Regions from separate parts of the Homo sapiens genome. Here all the other regions are linked to region 3. Evidence: promoter capture Hi-C in 16 types of primary human blood cells and fetal thymus (Javierre and others, 2016). All regions are on one chromosome and are shown on one strand. Each heading gives the region's core, a stretch centred on a gene start or on the middle of the fragment in contact. The rest is flanking DNA. Distances are from core to core; before and after follow the strand shown.

Region 1 (2,876 bases), core at 292-2,791, 160 kb after region 3:
GGAGAACCACTGCTCTCCTCAAAGCTGTTAGACAGAGACATTTAAGTCTGCAGAGGTTACTGCTCTCTTTTTGTTTGTCTGTGCCCTGCCCCCAGAAACTCCACGCAGTTCGAGCTTCCCAGCTCCTTTGTTTACCTAAGTGAGCCTGGGCAATGGCGGGCGCCCCTCCCCCAGCCTCGCTGCTGCCTTGCAGTTTGATCTGAGACTGCTGTGCTAGCAATCAGCGAGACTCCGTGGGTGTAGGACCCTCCAAACCATGTGCGGGATATAATCTCCTGGTGTGCTGTTTCCTAAGCCCGTTGGAAAAGCGCAGTATGCGGGTGGGAGTGGCCCGATTTTCCAGGTGCCGTCTGTCACCCCTTTCCTTGACCAGGAAAGGGAACTCCCTGACCCCTTGCACTTCCCAAGTGAGGCAATGCCTCACCCTGCTTCGGTTGGCCCACGGTGTGCTGCACCCACTGTTCTGCACCCACCGTCTGGCACTCCCTAGTGAGGTGAACCCGGTACCTCAGATGGAAATGCAGAAATCACCCATCTTCTGCATCGGTCACGCTGGGAGCTGTAGACCGGAGCTGTTCCTATTCGGCCATCTTGGCTCCTCCCCCAAACTTAGCATCTTAAGACAATGCCCTTTTATTATCTCACAGTCTTGGGAAGCAAAAAGTTTAGGAATATATTAGTTGAGTTTTCTGCACAGGGTTTCACCAGGCTGAAATTAAGGTATTAGCCGGGGCTATAATCTCATGTGGGGCTCAAGGACTAGTAGATCTAGTTGTTACATAAGCTGTACCTAGTATGGAATCTAACAAAATGAGACTATTATCTTTGGAAAGTGGGGGTTAACAATGGGGCTGGGAAAGAAGCTATGCCTTGGAGATCAACAGCTCTGGGTTTAAATTCTAACTGTGGTGTGTATGAGTTTTAATTTTATCACCTACATAAAAGAGAATATTTTACTTATTTTACAGGATTAAGAGATTAAATGAAATATCTGAAAGAGATTGACATCTAGCTATGTCTCCTAAGCATCTATATTTATTACTAAGCATGAAAACTCAAACATATTTCTGAGATGGGAATTATGAAAAAATATTCAAAGTTTTGAAAAGATGTTGAGGTGATAGGAAAACAAAGTCATGTCCAGCTTCACTTGATAATGAGGGTGCAGTAGTGTGGTTAATAAAATTGAAAAGATCAGGAAAAAGTCACAGAAACTGCTTTAGTTATTTCATTTATTTATTCATCCAATATTTGTATCTGTGTGAGAGCCTACTCTGAGATGGGCATCTTTCTAACTGTTGAGAATACAGTGGTGAACTAACCAGACAAGGACCTCACCCTTTGTATAGTACGGCATTTCCTAAAATGTATTGACTGAGATGTTATGATTCCTACAAATTAATAAATGAATAAAGGATTTCAAAGTCAAATAAATTATTGAAGCTTTATGTTATGTGAAGTTTTATGTTTGCTGTAGTAGTTCTCAGAGCCTTGAATATGCAAATGAAAATTGTGAATCTATAAGAATTAGATATAATATGTAGCATTTCCAAATTATTTTACTTTAGAGCTTCTATATAGAGGAACACATACTAATATCTTGCAGGAGACAGCTTGAGAAGTGCTCAATGAAGCTTTAAGTCAGATTGAATAAATGGATTTATAAAGCAATATTAAAGGCTTGTCAGTATTTGGATTTCATTCATTGGTAATGGATCCAATCATGAAAATTATATGATGTTATTTGGCACAATTCCACAGCTTAACAAAAGGCCTAGAGAAAATGGGCAGCTGATTTGTCTAGGTGTAGAAATTGACAAAGTGATTAAAATAAACTATGGAGGTGTAACAAAATCCTAGAGGCTTGTGAAATAAAGATAAATCAGTGAACCATGTATTCCAGCCTGGATAAGGAGGAAAGCAAAGCCTCAATAATTTGAGAGAATAATGAGATATGGAAATATTAGAAGTATAATGCTATTGCTTAGAAGTAAGAAAATGTGGAAGAAAATTATAGTCAGAGAGACACATTTCAAGTTTCAAGATATCAGATGTGAAAAATGGATGAAAAGTGATGACATTGTTTAGGACATAACTGTGGATTCATTGCTAAAGTGGAATGAAGAGAAGGTAAAAGCCTTATGAGTCCATAGTATACAAATGGTTGTCCATTTGAAGAATGAAGTTACTTAAGCATCTAGAAGATTATGAAGTAGAAAAGAGAACTGTGGTTCTGGCATAAATAATTTATGCATACTGGGTAGGCACCTGGAAATTGGTGGAATTATGACTTTTAAAAGTTAAGTCCGAGTATGGTGGCTCACACCTGTAATCCTAGCATTTTGGGACGCCGAGGTGGGCAGATCACTTGACGTCAGGAGTTCAAGACCAGCCTGGCTAACATGGTGAAACCCCATGTCTACTAAAAACACAAAAATTAGCGAGGTTTGGTAGTGGGTGCCTATAATCCCAGCTACTGGGGAGGCTGAGGAAGGAGAATCACTTGAACCCAGGATCTGAGCCGAGATATCACCACTGCACTTTAGCCTGGGCAAAAGAGCGAGACTCTGTCTGAAAAACAAACAAACAAACAAAGTTAATATGTGGTCTTCGAAGTAGGCATGGTGGAACCAATGTAAAAATCTAATGGCTTTGAATGAGACAGTAGGAAGCAAGGATATTGCCAACCTTTCCTTAAAGTCAACAGATTTAATGCAAGTAGGAGTGCCTTTACATGGAGGTTCCATGGGTAGTACAATATAAGGGAGAGTGGGTCTCGAGTTCAGACAAACACAGGTTAGATTCCTGACTCTGCTGCTTACTATGTTACAGCCTTATTTAAATATGTAATGTCTGTATGAATTCTACATTCTTTC
Region 2 (2,700 bases), core at 142-2,641, 180 kb after region 3:
ACATATTGAAATGTACTCTTCCTTTTGTTTTACATCTATCCCCGAAGTGTGCATTATTAGAGTTGAGTGCATTTAATAAGCCAGGATTATCTCCTAGAGTTGCAGAGCAAGACAAAGCAAGTAGAGTCGGTATCTGGAGACCTTTTTGCAAAGAAGGTAGGTTTTGGTGTGATTTTTAAACTCTTGGTATTAACTATTTTTTTATTCTTTTGTATTATGATGTTTTAAAATCAACTTTTGAAGGGTTTTTTGCTTGCTATATGAAATATATTATTAAACTGATTTAGTTGTCCTATATTCTTGGAAAGTATTTCTGGTTGCAAAAGGGTGGCATTTTTGTAGGAGCAGATATTGAAACTGCTAATAAATTAGAATCAAATAATAAGGGAGAATTCAATTCATTTTGGAACCAAAAAGGGAATGAAACACTTTTGCAAATTGATTTGTATTAACTAAATGCTCCCTTTAAAAAATAAAATTCTGGAACGATGACATTTGCTCTGCGTACAACGTGTGTGATCTTTTTAAGATATCAGGTTATCTTTGTGAGATTTAATTTGTAAGCTTTCTTAGAAGGAAAAACATTTTAAGTAAAAAAGAAGTATTTTTTAAGCTATTATGCTTAGTGTATAATTTAACTTAAATGGAAAATGCATAAATGCACTTGATATCTTTTAACAATTGTGCAATTACAATATAATTATTCTTCCTATGCGCAAAGATTAAATAAACTGCATTTCAACGTTAAATACCTTAAGAAGTATGACTGTAGTGGGAGGTCATTAGGTTAAATTCTAATAATAAGCAAATCATAAAATTCTGTTCATCAACCAAGTACAGAATTCAAGTAAATACACATCTATATGTATAGTTAATGGAAATTTATTTTTAGCTTGAGAAATGAAATAGGCATAGTACAGCCCCTGAATTCCTACTTTGCTTGAATAAATCCTCAGCTGAAAAATATTATCCAAGTTGAAGAAAAATGTCAGAAACAAAAAGAAACCCAAAAAGAGGCAAATCCTAAGAACTTTAATCAATAGGAATGGGTACCTAGGGAAAAAAACAAAAACGAAAACAAAAATTACCTAACATTCATTGAATACCAGACCTGAGCTAACACTGCGCTGGGTGTTTTGTATATGTTGTGACATTTAATCATCACAATAATCCATTGATGTAAGTATTGTCATATTTATTTACAGACCAGGCCAGACAGCTGGCATACAATGCTGCTGGAATTCAAACTTTGAAATGTCCCACTCTGAAGCTCATATTAGAACTATCAGATGAAGAAATGCATGAGATGACTAAAATTATGTAATGAACATCTTGAGGAGGTCAAAATTTTTTCAAGTCACTACAGCAAAAGATGTTTTCTGCCATTAAATAATGTCTTATATATTCCTATAACTATTCTAGTTAAATGTATAATTGTGTTCGTATGTGTTAATTAGCATTTATGATCCATGTTTACAGAGTGCACGCACTGTGTTAGACACTGTATTAGAAGTAAAAGATATTGCAATGAATGCTCAGGGAAACTAAGTTCTAACAGGGGAAATAAACAACACAATAGCAGCTTTTGATAAATATTAGGTGGAACAATATGAAACTGCCATGTTGGTTCAATATCAAAATTTCATCTGATTTGACCTAACTATCTAAATATTAAAGTATTTTTTCAAGTGTCCCTACAGAAACTCATGACATACATTTCTGTTATTTGAATATTCTTATACATTGTTTTTTATGGGATTCGATATGCACTGAGTCTCTGCAGAGAGTAGGCAGTTTATGGAAGAATATACAGTAAATCTGATCAACTTCTTAAGAATTACTTAACCTTTACTTTAGCTTTCTGATAAACTCTCAGAAGACATCTGGCAATATCTGAAGACAGTTTTGGTTGTCATACTGGTACCTGTTGAGTAGAGATCAGGTATGCTGCTAAAATCCTAAAATACACAGGACATTCCCCCAATAGGAAAGAGTTATCCAGCTCAAAAGGTTAACAGTAACACACTTGGGAGATCCTGCACTCAACACAAGAAGGGACCAGGCAAAGTTAATTGGGGGGAAAAAAACAGTAATATAAGTATACATCCCAAATCTTGGAGTTTAGCTTTCTCCAAACACCCATTGTATATGTCTGTTGAGGTAATCAAATCTTATGGTGAAAAATATGGACAGGAGTAAAAGTTAGAATGAAGCTTAAGAAAAGTCTTCATCAACATTTAAGTTAACTAAAATAGGACAATAAACTTGACACACTAAATAAATTTGTTATCAATGATCTCTCCTAAGTCTCAAATGAGTAATAATGGGTACTATAGAAGTCCTGTAATTTCTACTCATCCTTCCTTGCTCACTGGAAAACTTAGAGGATCTCCCTCCTCTGAAATTTCTAGCAGATGCTTATAAATTTGTTTTTTGTAAACAATATGTGCACTATTTTATTTTCTATATCTAGTATTCTGTGTTTTTTTAATTTTTTTTTTTTTTTTTAGAGACAAGCTCTCTCTAGGCTATATCACTAGTCTCAACTTCCTGGGCTCCAGCCATCCTCCCACCTCGGCCTCCCAAAGCATCAGGATTACAGGCGTGAGCCATTGCTCCCAGCTTATTTTTTTATTGTTGTGTTTGGGGGACTTTGAATATACAATAAACTAATCAGAGTTATTGCAAACTGTTATCATT
Region 3 (2,871 bases), core at 212-2,711:
GATATCACAATAGCATCTTTGTAGGTGCTAATATTGAGATCCAGCAAGAAGAACCAGAGCATACAGTAAAGAGATGTGAAAGCCCAGACAAAGATGATAATCTTTTTGGCTCTGGAAAATGTGCAGAGAAACTGGGCTTTGATGGGGTGACAGATTGCTATGTACCTCTCAATGGTAAAGGCTGTTATTGAACAAGAGGATGCATTAATTCCCAAATACTGGAGGTAAGTAATGCAGAGGCATCCAACATAGCCATAGACCCAGGAACCGTAGATACTGTCTGTTATGTTGGGGAGGCCTGCGGCCACCAAGACCATGAGATCAGCTACTGCCAGGCTCACCAGGTAGCAGTTTGTGGGGGTCCTCATGTGCTTGGTTCTCATGACAACCAGGACTACCATGATGTTGCCTACAATGCCCAGGCCACAAATAATGAGTACAAGTAAGATGGTGACCACCTGGTATTCTAAGGCCACCACTGCTCGTGGCTGAAGCTGTGTTTGGTTCAGTTCACTGACTGTCTCGTTTTCCATCTTTAGAAGCTTAAAGTTTCTCGGAAACACTGACTTCTCAAAACATCTTCTTTCCAGCGCCCACCTTTATTGCAGCAGTTCCATCCCCCTGTGAAGGGTCATAGTACATATTCATTAACAGTGTTACAATTTCTGATCAAGTCCCAATCACAAATAACCGTCACTTCCACTCCTTTCACTTCCCATTTTTCTATGGGAATAGGGCTCATGTGTACTTCTTAAAACTTCTTTTATTGCATCTCTAGTGTAGAATGGAGTAACTGTTTTGACCAGCTCACATTAAGAGGGACCAGTTCCCTCTTAATGGAGAAAAATGCTTAAGGAAAGAGAAACAGTAAAAACTAATTGTTTTGAAACAGTGCCCAGTTGAAAAAAACTAAATATCTGCTAACTGAAAAATAAATATGAATACACCTCTTAGATGCCTGGCAAAAGTATAATAAAGAAGAAAAAGATACCAGAGGAAAAAGCCAAGAAGCTCAATAATCAAGCTTGTTACAAATTTAGCTGTTGCCTCTTTTGCTCTCAGAGGGTGAGATGTCTTTGGTATAAAATAGCAAGCCTTTGAGATGACATTTCCCCATGCCCCCTGCCCCACAGATTCAAGAGAGGACAATTTCTTCTCTTACCTTATCCTCTGTAGCGCTGCCTGATTTTCTGGGTAGATGAAGTGGTAATAGTTCCAAGTTTCTAATCTTGCAGAAAATCTTGTCTACTCTATTTGAGAGGGAGACCACTTAGCAGTGCTCAGTCTTTAAAACTGCAGTTTCTCCAAACCCTCACAGCCCTTTCCAACTAATGACAAACCATACAGCCGCGGCAGAAGCAGAAGCAGCAGCAGGAGCAGCAGCAGTGAGGCTGTCAAATCATAGATCGTCCCCTAATGAGAACATACACGCTCGCTCGCTCTCTCACACACAGAGACACACACACACACACACACATACATTCACACACACTCACAGATGCCAGTCAGTCCTCACTGATTCAGAGTCTTCTGCTCTTGGAGGATTTACTATTAAATGTGCTGATGAGACAGTCTTTAATTTGGAAAGCTGAAATCATAAGCCAGGGGTCTAGAAGCAGCTGGCTTTGTCGTTGCTTATCATCTAAGTTCTGCAGAAACTCTAGTACCTGAGCTGCTCTGAAATACATTTACACTCCTTGCTTGATAGGACTTTGGGGTTAGCAAATCCTTCTCAGTCTAGACATGGCCCTTGAAGCTTGAAATATCTGTCTGAGCTGAAATCAACCTCTTTCTCTACTATGAAAACCCTTGTACTGTTTCTCAAGTGAATCAGTACAATTGGCTTCCTCCTCTCATATTTTGTGAATGGAAAATTAGTTAAAGTTGATTTCAAACCATTTCAGCTGCAATCTTCTGATGCTTATAACAATTATTTTTAAAAGGCCTCTTTGAGCTAAGAACATCAATTTAAACTGCGTAGGGTCTGTTAAGTTTTTCAACTCTTATTTCTGGACCACTTTATAGAATCTCTCTATCGGCCCTGGGTGCTTTTCACCTTCACCTGTCCTCTGGATTTCCAGTCACATGAACCACCTAGCAATGTTTTGTCTCAGTTTATTTCTAGGTGGAAAAATCATCTAGTAAAAATCTATACCAGTGCCATTCTGTTACCAAACCTCTGAAATGAAAATTAATAGACACATCTTTTGAAGAAAAGTACACTTCAGCATTATTATTTCTCTAAAGTAGCCAGTGGGCAAATCTACAGTTTGTTTTTTTTTTTTTAACTTTGAGACAGGATCTCACTCTGTCACCCAGACTGGAGTGCAGTGGCATGATCACAGCTCACTGCAGCCTCGACCTCCTGGGCTCAAGTGATCCTCCTACCTCAGCCTCTTGTGTAGCGGAGACTACAGGTGCACACCACCACGCTCAGCTAAGTTTTGTATTTTTTTGTAGAGATGGGGTCTTGTTATTTTGCACAGGCTGGTCTTGAACTTCTGGGCTCAAGTGACCCACCTACCTCAGCCTTCCAAAGTGCTGGGATTACAGGTGTGAGGCACTATGCCTTGTCTTAAATCTATTTTTTTAATGGAAGCTCAGAAAACATGTATCTTTTCTCAAGATACCAACTGAATACATCAAATGCTGATGCTTCTCCACTTTTATTTTATTAACTGACAATGAAAAATACCCTTAGCTAAATTTCCTGTAAGGTAACTGGTGGATTAAGAATAGACCTCTAGGCTGGGCACGGTGGCTCATGCTTGTGATCACACCAGCACTTTGGGAGGCCGAGGTGGGCAGATCACCAGAGGTCAGGAGTTTGAGACCAGCCTGGCCAACATGGCAAAACTCCGTCTCTGCTAA
Region 4 (2,714 bases), core at 65-2,564, 200 kb before region 3:
AATTTGAGACTTTTCTTACTTTTTGAGGTAGATACATAGCACTTTCCTCTTAACACTGCTTTTGCTGCATCCCAGATAATTTCCATGATACTGTGTGGTTTTTGAGAGATCTTCTTGGTATTGATTTCTATTTTTATTCCACTGTGATCTTAGAGTATGATTGGTATGATTTCATTTTTTATAATTTATTGAGACTTGCTTTATGGCTGAGTGTGTGAGTGATCTTGGAGTATGTTCTGTGTGCAGATGAGTAGGATTTATATTCTGTGGTTGATGGGTGGGGTATTCTGTAGATGTCTGTTAGATTAAGTGTCAAATTTAAGTCCATACTTTTTTTCTTTAGTTTTCTACCTTGATGATCTGTGTGATGCTGTGAGTGGTATGTTGAAGTTCCCCACTATTGTCTTGTGGCTAAGTCTTTCCATAGGTCTAGAAGTACTTGTTTTTATGTATCAGGGTGCTCCAATGTTGAGCACATATATATTTGGGATAGTTCAGTCTTCTCATTGAATTGAACCCTTTATTATTATGTAATGCCCTTTGTCCTTTTTTACCTTTGTTGGTTTAAAGTCTGTTTTATCTGAGGTAAGAATTGTGACTCCTGCGCTTTCTGTTTTCCATTTGCATAGCAAGTTTTTTTCCAGCCCTTTACTTTGAGCCTGTGGGTGTCATTATGTGTTAGATGGGTCTCTTGTAGAATGCCGATGGGCCTTGTTTTTGTTTTGTTTTTTTTTTTTTTTTTTAATCCAGCTTTCTACTCTGTGCCTTTCAAGTGGGATGTTTTGATCATTTACATTTAAGGTTAATATTGTTATGTGAAGTTTTGATTCTATCATGAAGTTGTTACTGATTGCTTTGTAGTTTCTATTGTATAGTTGCTTTACAGGGACTATGGCTCTGTCCTTGTGTTTTTGTGGTAGCAGATACTGTTCTTTTGTTTCCCTGTTTAGAACTTCCTTAAAGATCTCTTGTTAAGGCTGGTATAGTGGTAACTGATTGTCTTAGTGCTTGCTTGTCTGGAAAAGATTTTGTTTCTCTTTCACTTATGAAGCTTATAGTTTAGTGGGATATGAAATTCTTGGGTGGAATTTCTTGAAAAATTCTGCAAATAGCTCTCAATCTCTCCTGGCTTGTGAGGTTTCTGCTGAGAAGTCTGCTGTTAGCCTAATGGGGTTCCCCTATGTAATCTCTTTTCTTTAGGTGCCTTTAAGGTTTTTTCTTTAGTGTTGACCTTGGACAGTCTAGTGCTATATGCCTTGGTGATCTTCATTTTGTATAGTATTTCTCAGGGGTTCTGGATTTCTTATACCTGAATGTCTACCTCTCTAGCAGGATTAGGGAAATTTTCTGAATTATTCCCTCAAACATGTTTTTCAGTTTGTTTAGTGTTTCTTCTCTGGAATGCCAGTAGTTAATAGGGTTGGTTACTTTACATGATTTCATATTTCTCAGAGACTTTGTTCATTTTTTTAAAATTCTTTTTTCTTTATTTTTGTCTAGCTGGACTAGTTTGAAAGACTGGCCTTCAAGTTCTGGAATTCTTTCTTCTGCTCAGTTCAGTCTGTTGATAAAGCTTTCAATTGTATTTGGAAATTCCATAAGTGAGTTTTTCAATTCCAGAAGTTTGTACTGATTTCTTTTAAAGATGTTTATCTCTTCCTTCATTTCTTGGATTGCTTTAGAAGTTTCTTTGTATTGATTTTCAATTTTGTCTTAGATCTTGTTGAGCTTCCTTGCAATCCATGCTTTGAATTCTTTGTGTCTTTTTTCTGAGTGTCTATTTTGGTTAAGGACCATTTCTAGAAAGCTAGTGATATTTTTTGTCATGTCACTACATTCAGATTTTTTTTATGGTGCCAGAATTCTTGCACTGGTTTCTTTTTTTTTTTGGAATTTTTTTATTGTACTTTTAAGTTCTGGGATACATGTGCAGAACGTGCAGGTTTGTTACATAGGTATACACGTGCCATAGTGATTTGCTGCACTCATCAACCCGCCATCTACATTAGGTATTTCTCCTAATGCTATCCCTCCCCTAGCCCCCCACCCCCCGACAACCCCGGTGTGTGATGTTCCCCTCCCTGTATCCATGAGTTCTCATTGTTCAACTCCCACTTATGAGTGAGAACATGTGGTGTTTGATTTTCTGGTTTCTTATCTAGAGATTCTGGCACTTCAAATTTTTATAATATTTTTGTGCAGATAGGATTTTTTAGTTTTCTTTCTTTCCTTATAATATTATTTTTGTTTGTTTGTTTGTTTGTTTTCTTTCTCTTTCCCTCTCTAGGGGGTGTGACTATAGAGAATGCAGAGTAGGGTCTTTGGGCTTTGCTTCCATAGCCCTATGCACTTCTGTTGGCAGGTTGTATATTGGGCTATGCAGTTTAACCTACAAGCCAGTAGATGGTGCTTGTTAGTAACAGCCAATTGCAGCCAGTGCAGCAGGGTATATACTTAATCCTTGTTTACTGGGAGAACTCTCTATTGCCTCAGGCAATGGGCTGATTCTTGGATTGCACAGTTGTCTGAGCTCCCTGCTCAGCCCCGGGGAGTAGGGGCCAAGATGGGCAGGACGAGACTGGGCAGATCTGCCTACAGATCCCCCAGTGGCAGGTGTGGACACCAGCGCTGAGGGAGAATCTACCTGGCAGCCACTAAATGCCCAGAGGCATACCTAAGTGTGGAGCTAAGAAACCCTCCCAGCCCCAAGTTCT

The links. The method cuts DNA at HindIII sites, captures the fragments that hold promoters and counts their contacts. A CHiCAGO score of 5 or more calls a contact.
Region 1: a fragment that was not itself captured here is called in contact with the fragment with the promoter of TRHR in region 3 in 2 of 17 cell types (endothelial precursors and megakaryocytes); the score reaches 6.7 in endothelial precursors.
Region 2: a fragment that was not itself captured here is called in contact with the fragment with the promoter of TRHR in region 3 in 2 of 17 cell types (megakaryocytes and endothelial precursors); the score reaches 6.3 in megakaryocytes.
Region 4: a fragment that was not itself captured here is called in contact with the fragment with the promoter of TRHR in region 3 in 1 of 17 cell types (endothelial precursors); the score reaches 5.1 in endothelial precursors.

Annotation. Positions count from the first base shown.
Region 1 is chr8:108,928,208-108,931,083 of GRCh38, reverse strand. All of the region lies in intron 1 of LOC101927413 (a long non-coding RNA gene), which reads left to right. Among named protein-coding and RNA genes, the nearest start is that of TMEM74, 140 kb to the right of the region's middle. The HindIII fragment of the contact is 191 bases long and covers 1,446-1,636 here.
Region 2 is chr8:108,908,082-108,910,781 of GRCh38, reverse strand. All of the region lies in intron 3 of LOC101927413 (a long non-coding RNA gene), which reads left to right. Among named protein-coding and RNA genes, the nearest start is that of TMEM74, 120 kb to the right of the region's middle. The HindIII fragment of the contact is 1,649 bases long and covers 567-2,215 here.
Region 3 is chr8:109,085,175-109,088,045 of GRCh38, reverse strand. It overlaps TRHR (thyrotropin releasing hormone receptor), which reads right to left and starts at 1,461. Exons shown (of 3, transcript NM_003301.7): 1 at 1,163-1,461; 2 at 1-621. The coding sequence starts at 533. The HindIII fragment of the contact is 732 bases long and covers 1,027-1,758 here.
Region 4 is chr8:109,282,019-109,284,732 of GRCh38, reverse strand. The region is part of intron 5 of NUDCD1 (NudC domain containing 1); the gene reads left to right. Among named protein-coding and RNA genes, the nearest start is that of NUDCD1, 51 kb to the left of the region's middle. The HindIII fragment of the contact is 522 bases long and covers 1,054-1,575 here.